2 separate regions of the Homo sapiens genome follow, and region 1 is linked to region 2. Evidence: promoter capture Hi-C in human tissues and cell types (Jung and others, 2019). All regions are on one chromosome and are shown on one strand. The core of a region is centred on a gene start or on the middle of the fragment in contact, and the rest is flanking DNA. Distances in the headings are between cores, read along the strand shown.

Region 1 (2,700 bases), core at 126-2,625, 260 kb after region 2:
AGCATTAGGAGAAATACCTAATGTAAATGAACCTAATGAGTTAATGGGTGCAGCAAACCAACATGGCACATGTATACGTATGTAATAAACCTGCACGTTGTGCACAACTACCCTAGAACTTAAAGTATAATAATAAAATTAAATAAATAAAATTTAAAAACCTGTCTCGTTTGGATATTGTGACTCTCCCTAAGGCAATTTTTTTTTTTTTTTTTTTGGAAATGGATTTTGGCTCTGACGCCCAGGCTGGAATGCACTGGCATGACTCGGCTCACTGCAGCCTCTGCCTCCCAGGTTCAAGGAATTCTCCCACCTCAGCCTCTTGAGTATCTGGGATTACAGGCACATGCCACCACGCCCAGCTAGTTTTTTGTATTTTTAGTAGAGACAGGGTTTTGCCACGTTGGCCAGGCTGGTTTTGAACTCCTGGCCTCAAGTGATCTGCCTGCCTCAGCCTCCCAAAGTACTGGGATTACAGGCATGAGCCAATGTGCCCGGCCCCTCAAGCGAATTTATTTATGAGTGCCTAGCACAGTATCTGGCTCAATAAACATTAATGTAAGTAATTCACTTTATCTTTTTATTAACCTTCATTGCAGAAGAAGACTAGAGACAATAAATGACTTTCCCAAGGTCACAGGGAATGAAGTTGGATATGATTCACAATTTGTTTTTCCAGCTGTGTTACTGATGCAGAGGGAGCTATTTGGACAGGGAAAGGTAGTCCGAGGGGGAAAGTGACTGAGCTGTGGACCTGCTCTTCCTGTGTGCCAAGCATGCCACAGGGGTGCCAGGCACACAAGAACTGCCCGGTCATTTGTTCACTCATCACACATTTGTTGAGCAATTCCTCTATGGTGGGTACTGTATTAGGGTCTGAGATACAGAGAGGACAAGACACAGTTTCTGCTCTCAAAACTTGCTGGGCTTTGAAGAATGAATCAGAGTTAGCCTGGTTGAGATAAGTGGAAGGGCATATTCCAAAAAGAGGGAGCGGCCTATGAAAAAGCTTAGGGATGTGAATTATGCTGACACCCTCTGGGAACTGCAAACAATACATCTTGGCTGGAGAGAAGTATTCAAAGATGGGCATGGTGGGAGCTACAGCCACTGGCTTTGTATCCCACGCTAAGGAGCGTGTTTCTTAGCAAGCCTTAGAGGAGTTTAAAATGTGTAAAGATCATTCTGGCAACAGTGTGGAGAATGGATTGGCAGCAGGTAAGACATAAAGCAGGGAAACTAAGTGAGAAACAAAATGATCCAGGTGAAAAAGTTCATGGCCAAGCAATGAACATGGGAGTGGAGAGAAGCAGACAGACTGCAGTGATTTTAGGGAAAGATTGACTGGAATCAGTGACTGACTGCAGAGTAATTTTAGGATGGAAGAATCAAGAACAATTTCCAGATGTATGGCTTGGAGCAGATTTGAAGGGAGGACTGGGGAGAAGGAAGTTCATTTGTGGGCTGGGCACAGTGGCTCACACCTGTAATCCCAGCACTTTGGGAGGCAGAGGCGGGTGGATCACTTGAGGTCAGGAGTTCCAGACCAGCCTGACCAAGATGGTGAAACCTCGTCTCTACTAAAAATACAAAAATTAGCCAGGCATGCTGGCACGTGCCTGTAATCCCAGCTACTTGAGAGGCTGAGGCAGGAGAATTGCTTGAACCTGGGAGGCGGAGGTTGCAGTGAGCAGAGATCGCGCCACTGCACTCCAGCCTGGGCAAAGAAGCGAGACTCCATCTCAAAATAATAATAATAATAATAATAATAAATAAAAAGAAAAAGAAAAAAAATAAAGTTCACTTGTGGATCTGATAAGTCTGAGGTATTGTGGCTGCCAGCTTCCCACATGGCTCTGAATGATCCCTGCTTCCTTGTATTCGTGTCCTCATATGGTTCCCTCCCACATCACATCAGGATTGGTTTGTGTGGCCAATAAATACAACAGAAGTGATGACACATCACTTCTGAGGCTAGGTAGGGTGCCTTCCTCCTCATCCTCTCTTGGGGTGCTCACTCTGGAGGATGTTGGAGCTCCTCTGTGGGGAGGTCTGTGTGGCAAGGGACTGAGACCTCCTGCCAAAGACCTATGAGGTTGTGAGACTTCCAGGCAGTAGGTATGGGAATGAGCAAGATTGGAGACCGATTCCTTCAGCCCAGTCAAGTCTTCAGATGACTGTGGCCCAGGTTGATATCTTCACTGCAGCTTCCCAAAACACTCTGAGCCCAAACCACCCAGGTAGGTCTCTCCCAAACTCCTGACTCTCAGGATAAATTCTTTTTTTTTTTTTTTGAGACAGAATCTCGCTCTGTTGCCCAGGCTGGAGTGCAGTGGTATAGTCTTGGCTCACTGCAACCTCCACCTCCTGGGTTCAAGTGATTCTCCTGCCTCAGCCTCCCAAGTAGCTGGGATTACAGGCACCCACCAACACACCTGGCTAATTTTGTGTTTTTGATAGAGACAGGTTTCACCATGTTGGTCAGGCTGGTCTCAAACTCCTGACCTCAAGTGATCTGTCTGCCTCAGCCTCCCAAAGTGCTGGGATTACAGGCATGAGCCACCGCACCTGGCCAAATGTTTATTTTTATAAGCCACTAGATTTGGGGGATAATTTACTATACAGTAAAAAATAATGAATACAAATATCTTGGGCAACTCAACATTGAGCATAGGATTCTGGAACATGGAGGAGAGGTGT
Region 2 (2,962 bases), core at 174-2,673:
AGATACTTCTAATCACTTTTCATACGCAATATGAATTTTGTCAAAGTAATTAATTAAAGAATATGAAAAATACCAAGAAAACGTATTGAATTCTGACAAAGCGTCCGACTGCTTAAACAGTTAAATACTTGAGACTGACTACATTTCATCATATAGACACAACTATAAGGAAGTAAAATTCTCCCAAATGACAAACTTAGTGGCTAAATATAAAGGAGTTATTTTTGTTCGCACTTGCAAAAAGCAAACAAACAAAAAAGCGTAATCAAAGAAGCTCAACGAACAAGTTTAAAGTCAGGACCTGTAATAAGGAGTCAGAACCGTTACCAGAAAAAAAGAACCCAGCTCAAGCGATGTAGTAGGGAGGAAGTTATTAAGAAGTCAGAATCTGCTGCTGCTTAACAGGCTCAGCCAGTCCATCTTTCAGAAGATAATAGTTCTAACCAGAACTTGTGGTTTAATCAGTGCATATCTCAGCACCAGCAATGGATCACATCCAGTGTTTCTGAGGGTAACAAAAAACTTGAGCCGGCGCTAGATGGGGAGGAAAGTTCTTTCCTTGCCTCACTTAAACATCAATATGTCTTTTATCTTCGTGTTACATCTTAATGAGAAAGGACTATACTCTCACCCAGAGCACAGCTTCCCTGAGAGCTGTCCTGACCCCAGCCAGGTTCCTCAGTCAGAGCCCATGAACCTAATTCCCTAGTCAGATCTCACCCAGCCAAGAGCCCCAGCCGGTACATCACTCTTCCTCACCCCCTCCCTGCTAACCTCCCAGGCCAATTCCGTGACCTACATCCCTACACCCTGCACAGAGCCCCAAACTCCGCACCCCTCATTGTACTTCCGCCCCACTGACTTCCCAGTTAACCTTCGCCCCAGCCCCCACTCCATCTTTGTCTGGCTACCCCAAACGCGGCACCCCAGCGTTCCCCGACTCCCAACGGCAGCCCCTCCCCCACGCCGCCCCCCACCCTCCCGGCCTCGTCCCTGCCCCCACGCCCCCGGCCGGTCACCCCGGCTCCGCGCCTCCCCGGCTTCACCAGACCCGTCCCCTCCCCCGCTTCCTCCGTCCGCTCGTTCCCCTCCCCGCGGCCCTCCGCCCACGCCCACCCTGCAACAGCGGGCGCTCAGCCGGCCTTTCACCTTGTCCATGAGCTTCCAGCACTTCTCCACCATCTTCTTGTCCACCGTCCCCGGCGGGTGGGGGCTGAGGTGGTGGTGGTGGTGGTGGTGCGGCTGGAAGGCGTCCTTCATGAGCCCAATCAGGCCACCCGAACCCGAGCCCCCGGAGCCGCTGCCGCCCCCGGCCCCAGAGCTCTTCTTCACGTTGCCGGCCATGGCCTGGGCAGGGTCGGAGCCCAGGCGGGTCCGCCGGCTCGGCTCGACTGCGAGCGAGGGAGAGAAGCAGGGCGTGAAGGAGGGGCCTCTCCCGGCCGCCGCCGCCGCCGCCGCCGCCGCCGCCGCCGGCTATCCGGGCGGAGGGAGGAGCGGCCGTGGGGAGGGGAGTGGGCGGCGCCGGGAGTGCGCGGGACGCGCCCCTTCAGAGCGCGCGAGCCCGGGGCGGGCGGGGCGCGTCCCGGAGGCGGACCGGCTTACTGGTAAGCTCGGGGAAGCGGCCGGCCGCGGCCGGACTGGGCAGCGACGATCCCCGGGCCACCGGCTTCGAGCAGCTCGCGTGCCCACAGCTCCCGGAAAGCCGCGGCCAGGTTTCTGTGCCCGTCTTCCCCGCCCCTACGCCGGGGCGGGGCGGGGCCAGGCTGGGGCGGGGTCGGCGGAACCTTTGGGCCTGCGCCCTCTGCTGGAGAAACGGGGAAAGGAGCGGCGGGGGGTTGGGGAGTAGGTCCAAGGTGGAGTCTGCGCAGTAGCCAGAAACCAAGACTTCCATGCTCCTTGTGGGCGGGAGGTTGGCGCTTCTGGGGTGGGTCATGGGAATGTTTAAATTAAGACAGGTGGCGATGGAATGGAAGAGTCCTGATGTCAAGTCTTTCCCCACCCCTGACAAATGAGGAAATCGAGCTTAGAGTTATTTGTTTATTTACACTGTGGGAGGATGGTGGGAGAAAAAGGAAAGTTATTTCTCCACCCCTTATTATTTTCAATTCTTCATTAAGACACGACCAAGGACAGGAATATGAATGCTGCGGCCCATTCCAGCCGGATTAGGCCCCAGAAAGCCTTGAGACACTCAAGCCAGGACCTCTTCTTCCAGGCCCTTTGACCTCTTGAAAAGAAATCACTTCCTTTTTTTATTTTTTATTTTTATTTTTTTGGCTTGTGAAGACTAGTTACGTTTCTGGGAATTGAATCTCAAACATGTATTTAAGATTCTCCTACTCAGAGCATTGCACCACAGGTCGGCGCCGCCAGCATGAGGGCCCCCTCAGAAGCTGACCTGCTGCTGGCTCCGCCCGAGGGGGTTCTCTCTCCCGCCCAGGGAACAGAAATGCTGTTCCTGGTCACTTCCACTTCTCAGTCAATTACACTTCTCTAATGTAAAAGTTCCGTTGGAAGAACTTTGAAAATAGGAACTTCCCTTCCAAAGAGGGAAGTGCCCTGCCCTAATTTACTAATTCTGAGCCTCAGTTTTGGGAGTTTGCAGACCCAGGTGTGTCAGTATCAGTTCCGCCTTCGATCCCCCTCCAGGCTCTTCCACAAAGCCCTTGACAGATTAGGGAGTTAAATTTATCCGGTGCTCCTGTAAAGGGGAAAATATCTTTGAATGCAGGGACCATTCAGACAGGCATCCTGGGTTTGCAATTTAATCGCCTTTATCTAGAATTGATTTTGGAGTCAACATTATAATTTACTATCAGAAGAATTTCCTTTTATCATTTTCCATCCAGGAAGAGAAGAATCTACAAAGGGAAAATCTAGGCAAAGCTCCATCCCTTAGTGCCAACACCTAGTTGCAGGTCCTCCGTTTCTTTTCCCTGGACTATTGAATATTGAAACCTTT

Evidence for each region. The method cuts DNA at HindIII sites, captures the fragments that hold promoters and counts their contacts. A contact is called where the count stands out against the background at its distance.
Region 1: a contact is called between a fragment that was not itself captured here and the fragment with the promoter of CBL in region 2, in 2 of the 25 tissues and cell types used here (liver and spleen).

Annotation. Positions count from the first base shown.
Region 1 is chr11:118,946,538-118,949,237 of GRCh38, reverse strand. No RefSeq gene overlaps it. Among named protein-coding and RNA genes, the nearest start is that of UPK2, 8.4 kb to the left of the region's middle. The HindIII fragment of the contact is 7,281 bases long and covers 1-2,700 here.
Region 2 is chr11:119,204,800-119,207,761 of GRCh38, reverse strand. CBL (Cbl proto-oncogene) reads right to left here and starts at 1,423. Exons shown (of 16, transcript NM_005188.4): 1 at 1,150-1,423. The coding sequence starts at 1,344. RefSeq lists silencers at 906-965, 1,156-1,345, 1,416-1,805, 1,846-1,915. The HindIII fragment of the contact is 26,271 bases long and covers 1-2,962 here.